Regions from separate parts of the Homo sapiens genome. Here all the other regions are linked to region 1. The links are contacts of gene promoters, found by promoter capture Hi-C in human tissues and cell types (Jung and others, 2019). All regions are on one chromosome and are shown on one strand. Each heading gives the region's core, a stretch centred on a gene start or on the middle of the fragment in contact. The rest is flanking DNA. Distances are from core to core; before and after follow the strand shown. Region 1 holds the start of BIRC5 (baculoviral IAP repeat containing 5). Region 2 holds the start of LGALS3BP (galectin 3 binding protein). Region 3 overlaps CYTH1 (cytohesin 1). Region 4 overlaps USP36 (ubiquitin specific peptidase 36).

Region 1 (2,845 bases), core at 337-2,836:
ACAGGAGACAGAGAGAGAGCGGGGAGTAGAGAGAGGGAAGGGGTAAGAGAGGGAGAGGAGGAGAGAAAGGGAGGAAGAAGCAGAGAGTGAATGTTAAAGGAAACAGGCAAAACATAAACAGAAAATCTGGGTGAAGGGTATATGAGTATTCTTTGTACTATTCTTGCAATTATCTTTTATTTAAATTGACATCGGGCCGGGCGCAGTGGCTCACATCTGTAATCCCAGCACTTTGGGAGGCCGAGGCAGGCAGATCACTTGAGGTCAGGAGTTTGAGACCAGCCTGGCAAACATGGTGAAACCCCATCTCTACTAAAAATACAAAAATTAGCCTGGTGTGGTGGTGCATGCCTTTAATCTCAGCTACTCGGGAGGCTGAGGCAGGAGAATCGCTTGAACCCGTGGCGGGGAGGAGGTTGCAGTGAGCTGAGATCATGCCACTGCACTCCAGCCTGGGCGATAGAGCGAGACTCAGTTTCAAATAAATAAATAAACATCAAAATAAAAAGTTACTGTATTAAAGAATGGGGGCGGGGTGGGAGGGGTGGGGAGAGGTTGCAAAAATAAATAAATAAATAAATAAACCCCAAAATGAAAAAGACAGTGGAGGCACCAGGCCTGCGTGGGGCTGGAGGGCTAATAAGGCCAGGCCTCTTATCTCTGGCCATAGAACCAGAGAAGTGAGTGGATGTGATGCCCAGCTCCAGAAGTGACTCCAGAACACCCTGTTCCAAAGCAGAGGACACACTGATTTTTTTTTTAATAGGCTGCAGGACTTACTGTTGGTGGGACGCCCTGCTTTGCGAAGGGAAAGGAGGAGTTTGCCCTGAGCACAGGCCCCCACCCTCCACTGGGCTTTCCCCAGCTCCCTTGTCTTCTTATCACGGTAGTGGCCCAGTCCCTGGCCCCTGACTCCAGAAGGTGGCCCTCCTGGAAACCCAGGTCGTGCAGTCAACGATGTACTCGCCGGGACAGCGATGTCTGCTGCACTCCATCCCTCCCCTGTTCATTTGTCCTTCATGCCCGTCTGGAGTAGATGCTTTTTGCAGAGGTGGCACCCTGTAAAGCTCTCCTGTCTGACTTTTTTTTTTTTTTTAGACTGAGTTTTGCTCTTGTTGCCTAGGCTGGAGTGCAATGGCACAATCTCAGCTCACTGCACCCTCTGCCTCCCGGGTTCAAGCGATTCTCCTGCCTCAGCCTCCCGAGTAGTTGGGATTACAGGCATGCACCACCACGCCCAGCTAATTTTTGTATTTTTAGTAGAGACAAGGTTTCACCGTGATGGCCAGGCTGGTCTTGAACTCCAGGACTCAAGTGATGCTCCTGCCTAGGCCTCTCAAAGTGTTGGGATTACAGGCGTGAGCCACTGCACCCGGCCTGCACGCGTTCTTTGAAAGCAGTCGAGGGGGCGCTAGGTGTGGGCAGGGACGAGCTGGCGCGGCGTCGCTGGGTGCACCGCGACCACGGGCAGAGCCACGCGGCGGGAGGACTACAACTCCCGGCACACCCCGCGCCGCCCCGCCTCTACTCCCAGAAGGCCGCGGGGGGTGGACCGCCTAAGAGGGCGTGCGCTCCCGACATGCCCCGCGGCGCGCCATTAACCGCCAGATTTGAATCGCGGGACCCGTTGGCAGAGGTGGCGGCGGCGGCATGGGTGCCCCGACGTTGCCCCCTGCCTGGCAGCCCTTTCTCAAGGACCACCGCATCTCTACATTCAAGAACTGGCCCTTCTTGGAGGGCTGCGCCTGCACCCCGGAGCGGGTGAGACTGCCCGGCCTCCTGGGGTCCCCCACGCCCGCCTTGCCCTGTCCCTAGCGAGGCCACTGTGACTGGGCCTCGGGGGTACAAGCCGCCCTCCCCTCCCCGTCCTGTCCCCAGCGAGGCCACTGTGGCTGGGCCCCTTGGGTCCAGGCCGGCCTCCCCTCCCTGCTTTGTCCCCATCGAGGCCTTTGTGGCTGGGCCTCGGGGTTCCGGGCTGCCACGTCCACTCACGAGCTGTGCTGTCCCTTGCAGATGGCCGAGGCTGGCTTCATCCACTGCCCCACTGAGAACGAGCCAGACTTGGCCCAGTGTTTCTTCTGCTTCAAGGAGCTGGAAGGCTGGGAGCCAGATGACGACCCCATGTAAGTCTTCTCTGGCCAGCCTCGATGGGCTTTGTTTTGAACTGAGTTGTCAAAAGATTTGAGTTGCAAAGACACTTAGTATGGGAGGGTTGCTTTCCACCCTCATTGCTTCTTAAACAGCTGTTGTGAACGGATACCTCTCTATATGCTGGTGCCTTGGTGATGCTTACAACCTAATTAAATCTCATTTGACCAAAATGCCTTGGGGTGGACGTAAGATGCCTGATGCCTTTCATGTTCAACAGAATACATCAGCAGACCCTGTTGTTGTGAACTCCCAGGAACGTCCAAGTGCTTTTTTTGAGATTTTTTAAAAAACAGTTTAATTGAAATATAACCTACACAGCACAAAAATTACCCTTTGAAAGTGTGCACTTCACACTTTCGGAGGCTGAGGCGGGCGGATCACCTGAGGTCAGGAGTTCAAGACCTGCCTGGCCAACTTGGCGAAACCCCGTCTCTACTAAAAATACAAAAATTAGCCGGGCATGGTAGCGCACGCCCGTAATCCCAGCTACTCGGGAGGCTAAGGCAGGAGAATCGCTTGAACCTGGGAGGCGGAGGTTGCAGTGAGCCGAGATTGTGCCAATGCACTCCAGCCTCGGCGACAGAGCGAGACTCCGTCATAAAAATAAAAAATTGAAAAAAAAAAAAGAAAGAAAGCATATACTTCAGTGTTGTTCTGGATTTTTTTCTTCAAGATGCCTAGTTAATGACAATGA
Region 2 (2,720 bases), core at 38-2,537, 770 kb after region 1:
GTGTCCTGGGAAACCCCTCAGTCCCAGGCACGCCGGTATGGGTGGACGCCCTCTCCACTTCTGCCCCCAGCCACTTCACTCTGCTGCAGCCACTAGGTTTGTCCGTCCTGGGAGAGTAACTCAGGGCCTTGGAAAAATGGCCAACTGGCCAGGCGCGATGGCTCACGCCTGTAATCCCAGAACTTTGGGAGGCTGGGGCAGGTGGATCACTTGAGGTCAGGAGTTCAAGACCAGCCTGGCCAACATGGTGAAACCCCGGCTCTACTAAAAATACAAAATAATAATAATAATAAGCTGGGCATGGTGGTGTGCACCTGTAGTCCCAGCTACTCAGGAGGCTGAGGCAACAGAATTGCTTGAATCCGGCAGGCAGAGATTGTAGTGAGCCGCTGCACTCCAGCCTGGGTGACAGAGCAAGACTCTGTCTCAAAAAAAAAAGGGGGGGGGGCAACGAAGCACCTGGCAGGTGGCGTCGCTGCCCTTTGTGTGGCAGCGGCTATTTTTGCCTGATTCCTTCATACAGTTGAGACCCGGCTGCCTGTGTTGGCCCCTTCGTGCAAATCAGAAAAAAAGGTGCTCTTCCTTGGAGTGGGTGCAGGCCTAGGCCAAATGCACAGGTCTGAGAGAGGGCCAAGCTGAATTCTAACCCACTTGCCCTTTGGCTGGTATCCTTGTGCAGTGAGTAATCTGCCCAACTGTACACAGAGGCCCTGTGGGCCTGGGAGCAGCAATGATTGTTGCTGGACTCAGGAGCCCTGGATCCCCAGCTCCAGGCCTATGTGCAAACAGGGAGGCATGACCCCCACTTGCCTGTGTAGAGAGAGGGGTGCCCTGGCCGGGCGCGGTGGCTCACACCTGTAATCCCTACACTTTGGGAGGCCGAGGCGGGTGGATCACCAGAGGTCAGGAGTTTGAGACCAGCCTGGCCAAGATGGCGAAACCCTGTCTCTACTAAAAATACAAAAATTAGCTGGGCGTGGTGGCACGCGCCTGTAATCCCAGCTACTTGGGAGGCCGAGGCAGGAGAATCGTTTGAACCCAGGAGGCAGAGGCTGCAGTGAGCGGACATTGCATCACTGTACTCCAGCCTGGGTGACAGAGTGAGACCCTGTCTCAAAAAAAATAAAAATAAAAAAGAGAGAGAGACTGAGAGGGGTGCCCACCTGAGAGCTAGAGGCAGGAGCTTACCTGGCTGCGGTAGCTGCAACGGCCGTGTGGAGCCTCCTCGCTTCCAGCCACAGGATCCCTCTGCAGACTGGTCCTTTGACCCAGAAGCCTCTCCCAGTATGGAGCGTGGTCAGGCTGATCCCAGGAAATGCTTCAGAAAAGAGTCTACTTTCGATTTCCAGAAACCACCTGACATAGATGTCTTCCGGGATTGGCTGCTGCTGATACTCCCCAGGGCCCCTCTCTTTTGTCTCAGCTCTGCCTGTGGCTATCAGTGCCAGGCTGGCAGAGGCCCAAGGTGGGAGTCTGGCTGGAGCAAGGCCTGCAAGAGGACTAACAGCCACACTCAGTTGGAAAGGCCGCCAGGCTGGTCAGGGGCTGGCGTTTGGTGGACGGGAGGGGAAGAAGCAGAGGCTCTGGGCCCAGACAGTCTGCACCTGGTGGTGTGGCTGTGGACTCTGACAGAGCGCTCCGAGTCTTTTCCTGGGTCTAGCACGTTGCTGGCTGGGTGAACACCACACAGGGGGCTGCTTATGTGCAAATCCACCCTCTCTGTGCTCTTGGCATGCTGACCACACAGAGGGCCTGTGCCCCACAAGGTTGCATGGCACTGTCCCCTGTCCCCAGGGGAGGGAGGCACTGAGAACCAGGTATGCAGCTGGCCAGTGGAGGAGCTGGACCCTGCTCCAACACCTGACCCCAGAGCCTGTGCTCGCCACTGCTGGACCTGTGGCCACTCTCCTACTGTCTCCCCCTCAGCGGGGCGGGGGACAGAGCCTCTCTGGGTGACATAATGGCTCTGTCCAGCTCATACCCATTCCCTTTCCTCCCACTGAAAGCCGGCACCTCAACTGTCCCTTGGGGAGCACCCCCTCCCATTCCCGGCTGTGTGGTTCCCAGAGGGCCCCCAGCTCTTGGCCTTCAACCACCCAAGGCCTGGCTGTCTGAGCCCTGCGGGGGCCCCGGGCCACACTGCTGGTTTCAGGGTGGGGCTGTGAGCCCAGCCAGCCGGTGAGAGCCAGCTTCTGACTGAGAGGATGTGGGCCCAGGCTGCTGGGGCCGGTGGGGCAGAGCAGAGGGAAGCAGGCATCCTCCGGCCTGAGCTCCTGGGTCCAGCTGGCCTAATCCATGGTCAAGGCTGGGCTTCACCGCTCAGTGAGGCAATCAGCAGCCGCTCTTGTTTCTGTCACTTGCACCCCATGGTTCTGGATGAGCCTTGGGATGTGCCCAGGCCTCTGACCAGTGGTTCTCAGCCTGGGCTGGACAGAAGAATCATCAGGGAGTTTTACAAACTCCTAATGCCTAGACCCAGGAAGTCACCATCTCTGGGAGTAGGGGACAGGCAGGGGCATTTAAAAGCCCCCAGGCAGTCCCACTGGGTGGAAGGCCCTGGTTCCCTGGCAGCTTAGAGTCCGAGACAGCCAGCCCAGAGGTCAGACATTCAATGACTATTTCCTTCAAGGTGTGAGGTTTTAGGCAGCTGCACGGTTTGCCTAATCCCCTCCAGAGGAACTGTGAAGATCCAGGGGCAGGTGCAGCTGGAAATAGAACTG
Region 3 (2,946 bases), core at 288-2,787, 510 kb after region 1:
GCTTTGCGTAGTCTTCACTGCACCGCGGTCTGCACTCCTGTTCAGAAGCGGTAGCAAAGAAATAAGTGGTTTTTTGCCCTACTCCAACTCACACCTTCAACTACCATCCTTATCCAGCACTAATTCCCCAAACCACTACTGACTTCCCATCCTCTTTCCAGTTCTCTCTCTCAGGCTCAAGGACAGGTGCAACCAGAAAGTGACCCTCTGACAAGCGTGCAAGGGCAATGTGCATCAATCATTTTATTTCTAAAGCGGAAAATGAGGCACAAGGAATACATTCAAATCTCGCAGTTTCATCAGCATCCCAAACCCACGAATTCACAATGCTGCTCAAAGGTCCTCTCTGCCCATGAGGCGTCCCCAAACCCCAAATCACCTGGGCCACAGGCTCCAAGCACCACAGACATGATAAGCATAAAGCTTTTAGGCGAGTCAGCATTCTCAATCTCCCCTCCTTCTGTGTCCCATGAAAACAGAGGCCTGGGGTTTTTTTTACTTTTTTCTTTAAATTCTATTCCACTCCTTACACTTAAAAATGCCTCATTATTCTTTAGTAAATGCTAGGAGCATAAAATCTTCTTCAAAGAAGCAAAAACTGGCATCTGTTCCTGCTCTGAGAAGTCCTTGAAGATCTCTTGAAAGGAAGGTCATTTCTACCTGCACCTCAAAATAGAAACAAACTGGCTCCCTGTTCCAGACATCACCCTTACCAGAGTTGCCCCGAGTCCGGGTTTGCAAAAGTTTGGGAGAGGTGTAAGAAGGAGCTGACTAGGGCACCAGCCTTCCAAGTCGCGGGAAGGTCCAGGATACTGGCCCCCTGCCTCCACCTACCAGCAGGGCAAGGCTGGAGCAGGCACGGCCGACCCAAGCCTCCTGGCGAGTGCATCCTTCTGGTGCCAACTCAGTGTGTTAGGAGGGCAGGCTTCTTCTTCTCTGTCTTGGCTGCTCTCATGAGGCTGCTCTTGGACCGTCCCCTATCTCCTGCCCATGCAGGGGGCAGAACTGTAGGAGGAAGAAAGACGAGACCTATGGCAGGGGCAGCCAAGGAGAGCAGTGAGGAGGAGCAGAAGGCAGGCCAAGCTCTGCACCTTTGAGATCCAGGGCAGCACACCCACTCCAGAACTAGCTGAAGAGGTGCTGACCCATGAGAGGGCAGTGAGTCCCTGATATCATGCAGGTGTCCTATGGCCTCCCTCCACGACAAATGGATGCCCACCTCTAGGTGGCACGATATAGTCAGTTTCTCTGGACAAACTCTATTCTACCCCAAACACTGGTAAATCCTCCCCAAGCCAGGCTGGTTCCTGCAGCAGGGCCAGCCTCTCATCTAGACAGGAAAAAGAAACATGGAAAACAAAGGGGACCTGAGCAAAGGTAGAAAGACCCCAGTAATCAAAGTTCTCGTACATACACCACGATGTTTAAAAACATTATTTACGCCGGGTGCAGTGGCTCACTCCTGTAATTCCAGCACTTTTGGGGGCCGAGGTGGGTGGATCACTTGAGGTCAGGAGTTTGAGACCAGCCTGACCAACATGGTGAAACCCCATCTCTACTAAAAATACAAAATTAGCCAGGTGTGGTGGCACATGCCTGTAATCCCTGCTACTTGGGAGGCTGGTATTACAAGAGAATCACTTGAACCAGGGAGGCAGAGGTTGCAGTGAGCCAAGACCACGCCATTGCACTCCAGCCTGGGTAATGAGAGCGAAACTCCATCTCAAAAAAAAAAAAATTATTTACATTACCAACATGATGTTTACAGAAATATAATAAAAAGGATATTAAACTTCACATGGGAAAAAATATATATGACAATAGTCAGAAAAATATGAAAGGGAGAAAGGGTAACGTGAGGGTGTAGCTACCTGAGATTAAAGCACGTGAGGCTTTGGTAATTGAAACTGCAACGGAAGAAAAAGACCAGAAAACAAACTCAAGAAATACTGAAACACACACGTAGCACTTTGAATCGGTAAAGAAAAATAGGATTATTCAGTCAAGGGTGCTGAGCAAATAAATAGCCAGCTAGCCATTTGGGATAAAACTAAGCTGAAATGAATTCTAGCTTAATCAAAGATGTTAATGTAAAATAAAACCTGAATAATTCTAGAATAGAGCATGAATTAGTATAGTCATAATATTGGTGAGTCTGCTCATTTGCGACATGAAAATGAAAAGCTTCTGAGTGAAAAATAATATCCCATAAGCTAAAAGGTAAACAACTAGGACAATAAATTCACAAAACATATGACAAAGGGTTAATATCTTTTTTTAAATTAATTAACTTATTATTTTTAGAGAGAGGGTCTCACTCTGTACCCAGGCTGGAGTGCAGTGGTGTGATCATAGCTCACTGCAGCCTCAAACTCCTGGCCTCAAGCGATACTCCCACCTCAGCCTCCAGAATAGCTGGGACTATAAGTATGTGCCACACCTGGCTAGGGTTAATTTATTTAAGTCACAAAGAAAGCAGCATAAAAATTAGTAAAGCAAAGATGAATACAATGAGCAAAGGATATAAAAGACAGATTACAAAAAGAGAAATACAAATGGTCACACAGAAGAAGATGCTCACAGTCACTATGTGTTTAATGCAAATTAAAACATGAATAACATACCATTTTCCATTAGTCTGGCAGGAATCAGAATGCCAGATGAGACGAAATACTGTCAGGGGAGTGGGCTACACAGGCAGTCTCCCGTGCTGCTGGGAGAGTGTAAACTGGTACAACCTTTTGGCACTAGCAAAACATAAAGAGCACACACCTTTTGATTTGATTTGAATCAAACTTATGAATTTGATTCTTAAATTCCACTTAAGAGTGGATATGCTCCCCAAATTCCAAAAATTTTAAACTACCTAAAAACTACTTGGTAATTTAAAAGAATGAGGTGATTTGTAAATGCTAACATGAAAAGATCTCTAAGACACATCTGGTG
Region 4 (2,812 bases), core at 192-2,691, 610 kb after region 1:
GGGTGGGAGGATCACTTGAGCCCAGGAGTTCGAGGGCAGCCTGGGTAACATAGGGAGACTTCATCTCTACCAAAATAAAAAATAAAAAAATTAGCCAGGCATGATGGCATGTGCCTGTAGTCCCAGCTACTTAGGTGGCTGAGGCAGGAGGATGGGTTGAGCCTAGGAGGTTGAGGCTGCAGTGAGCTATGATCTCACCACTGCAATCTCCAGCCTGGGCAATAGAGCAAGACTCTATCTCAGAAAGAAAAAGAATAAAGAATGTAAAATCCGGCAGGATGCAATGGCTTATGCCTGTAATCCCAACACTTTGGAAGGCCAAGGCAGGAGGATCGCTTGGAGCTGGGAGTTGGAGACCAGCCTGGGCAACATGGCCAGACCCCATCTCTACAAACAATACAAAAACAGTCAAGTGTGGTGCGCCTGTAATCCCAGCTACTCAGAAGGCCAAGGCCGACTGCTTGAGTCCAAGAGTTTGAGGCTGCAGCGAGCTGTGATTGCACCACTGTCCTCCAGCCTAGGTATAAGAGCAAAACCCTGTCTCAAACAAAAAGAATGTAAAATCCATTGAATATCTCTCCAAAAGCCAATATAAAACACAGGTGAGTAAGTATTTCACAGTGCTACAATTTACACAGATTTCAAAAACCGGTAATAGGCCTCTTCTTTCTGCCAAGTGAATGTGAATGAGACTTTTTTATAGCATAGGCAACTGATTCCTGATATTCAGAATGGAATTGGTACATTCCTCATCCATCCCTCCTCCCAGCTCTCCCTCAGGCCCACCTGCCTGCCCCAAATACACAATAACTCCTCCACCTGCCCAAAGGAAAAGCTACCTGTCCTGACCTGCCCCCACTAAGAGGCTTCCCCACTGACCCCAGCCCACATGTCTCTAAACTGCTATTCCTTGAGTCTGCACCACCACATGCAGGGCTGTTAGCACAGAGGGATTCCCAAGACTTCATCCATGACTCACTCTTCTCTCCCTTCTACCAACTCCCCAGCACCTCCTACAGGGCGAGCACTTAGCAGGCCTTCAGTAACAGATGGAGAATGGCACAGTGGCTCGTGTCTGTAATCCCAACACTTTGGCAGGCCAAAACGGAAGGACTGCTTAAGGCCAGGAATTTAAGACCAGCCTGGGCAACATAGCGAGAACCCCATCTCTACAAAAAATTAAAAAATAAATAAATCACAAAAATTTTAACATGGATTGATGCTTACTTTTCAGGTCTCGGATGAAGGAGACGGGCTTGATGGCGTTGCCGCTGTTGGCGAAGGCCTGGACAATGTGGTTCTGCATGACACACAGCATGCAGAAGCTTCCCTGGTGGCCTGCCGGCGTGGAAGGAGGAGCAATTTTAAGACAAGAGCTTTCAAAGAACTCACGGTGAGGCCCCCACCCCAAACGTTAACACAGCCAGAAACACAAGCAGGTAAGAGCAAACCAGGCTGTGAGAGAACGGCTGAGCCAGAGATCCCAGACCTCTGCTGACTGGGTGACCACCAAGGAAATGTTATTCTCTGCTGGATGGCGTTTGGAAGCTATGATCCATCCAAAGCTGAAACTCTCACCATCACAACCTCACACCATCACCCCACATTAATGCTGACCTGTGCATGATCCTTTTCAGATTTCACTAGTATTATTTACTTATAAAAAGACTAAGGCAGATTTTCAAAATGAAGCTTAAACGATGTATTCTCGAATTTCTAAGCTGCATCACATGGTAAATAGGCTAAAATATTTTAGGGCTGACAGCCCCTTAGTAGTGCCTCAGATATGGGACCGTCTGTTCCACTGGTTCTAGTAAACACCTCGCTAGGATACATCTGGGGTTGAAAATGTTTTCTGGGAAGATCCAGATAGCAAATCCTTTCCTATCTGAGGGCTATACAGTCTAGTCACAACTATGCTCCTGTATTGTAGAGGAGGCAGCCATAGACAATATATGAACAATGGGGTATGAACGTGTTCAATAAAACTTTATTTACACACACAGAGAGCAGGCCAGATGAGTCTGCCCACCCCTGCGCTACATAAAACGCCTCACTAGGCATTAGGCTAGACAGTGGTCCTTTTTTTTTGAGACAGAGTCTCACTGTCACCCAGGCTGGAGTGCAGTGGCACAATCTTGGCTCACTGCAACCTCCGCCTGCCGGGTTTAAGCAATTCTCCTGCCTCAGCCTCCCAAGTGGCTGGGACTACAGGCTCGTGCCACCATGCCAGGCTAATTTTTTGTATTTTAGTAGAGACAGAGTTTCACCATGCTGGCCAGGCTGGTCTCGAACTCCTGACCTTGTGATCCACCTGCCTCAGCCTCCCAAAGTGCTGGGATTACAGGCGTGAGCCATCGAGCCCAGCCCCGACAGTGGTACATTTTTACCTTTCAAATTATGATGTAAATAAACACTGCTGTGATCGCCGAACTCCCCTCAATCTCTCTCAACCCCATTTTCCATGTACCTTCATTCAAAGTCACCACTATCCTGAATTAGGCAATTATCGTTCTCATTCATGTATTATCACACACATGTGTATCCATGAACAATAAATGGCACTGTAGCTACATGTTTCCAAACTTCCTTTCTATAAATCGTATCATGCAGTTACGTATCATTCAGCAATGGCTTTACAAAAATCCATGTTGCTAGACATAGCTCCAGTTCCTTCAAATCTTCCAGCTAGAATATTTCACTGAATGAAGAGACCACTGTTATTTATGTATCCACCACTAACACACATTTAGCCTTTCCATTTTCTCTGCTATCATAGACATTTTGCAATGAACAATCCTGCACCTGTCTC

The links. Contacts are between HindIII fragments. The study calls those that stand out against the background at their distance.
Region 2: the fragment with the promoter of LGALS3BP here is called in contact with the fragment with the promoter of BIRC5 in region 1 in 1 of the 25 tissues and cell types used here (spleen).
Region 3: a contact is called between a fragment that was not itself captured here and the fragment with the promoter of BIRC5 in region 1, in 2 of the 25 tissues and cell types used here (dorsolateral prefrontal cortex and spleen).
Region 4: a fragment that was not itself captured here is called in contact with the fragment with the promoter of BIRC5 in region 1 in 2 of the 25 tissues and cell types used here (dorsolateral prefrontal cortex and spleen).

What each region holds. Positions count from the first base shown.
Region 1 is chr17:78,212,667-78,215,511 of GRCh38, forward strand. It overlaps BIRC5 (baculoviral IAP repeat containing 5), which reads left to right and starts at 1,587. Exons shown (of 4, transcript NM_001168.3): 1 at 1,587-1,761; 2 at 2,014-2,123. The coding sequence starts at 1,651. RefSeq lists an enhancer at 1,332-2,233. The HindIII fragment of the contact is 20,243 bases long and covers 1-2,845 here.
Region 2 is chr17:78,978,636-78,981,355 of GRCh38, forward strand. LGALS3BP (galectin 3 binding protein) reads right to left here and starts at 1,288. Exons shown (of 6, transcript NM_005567.4): 1 at 1,189-1,288. RefSeq lists an enhancer at 1,322-2,314. The HindIII fragment of the contact is 8,620 bases long and covers 1-2,720 here.
Region 3 is chr17:78,726,824-78,729,769 of GRCh38, forward strand. All of the region lies in intron 1 of CYTH1 (cytohesin 1), which reads right to left. Among named protein-coding and RNA genes, the nearest start is that of CYTH1, 54 kb to the right of the region's middle. The HindIII fragment of the contact is 3,980 bases long and covers 1-2,946 here.
Region 4 is chr17:78,827,670-78,830,481 of GRCh38, forward strand. USP36 (ubiquitin specific peptidase 36) reads right to left here. Exons shown (of 21, transcript NM_001385174.1): 5 at 1,228-1,338. Among named protein-coding and RNA genes, the nearest start is that of USP36, 12 kb to the right of the region's middle. The HindIII fragment of the contact is 3,104 bases long and covers 1-2,812 here.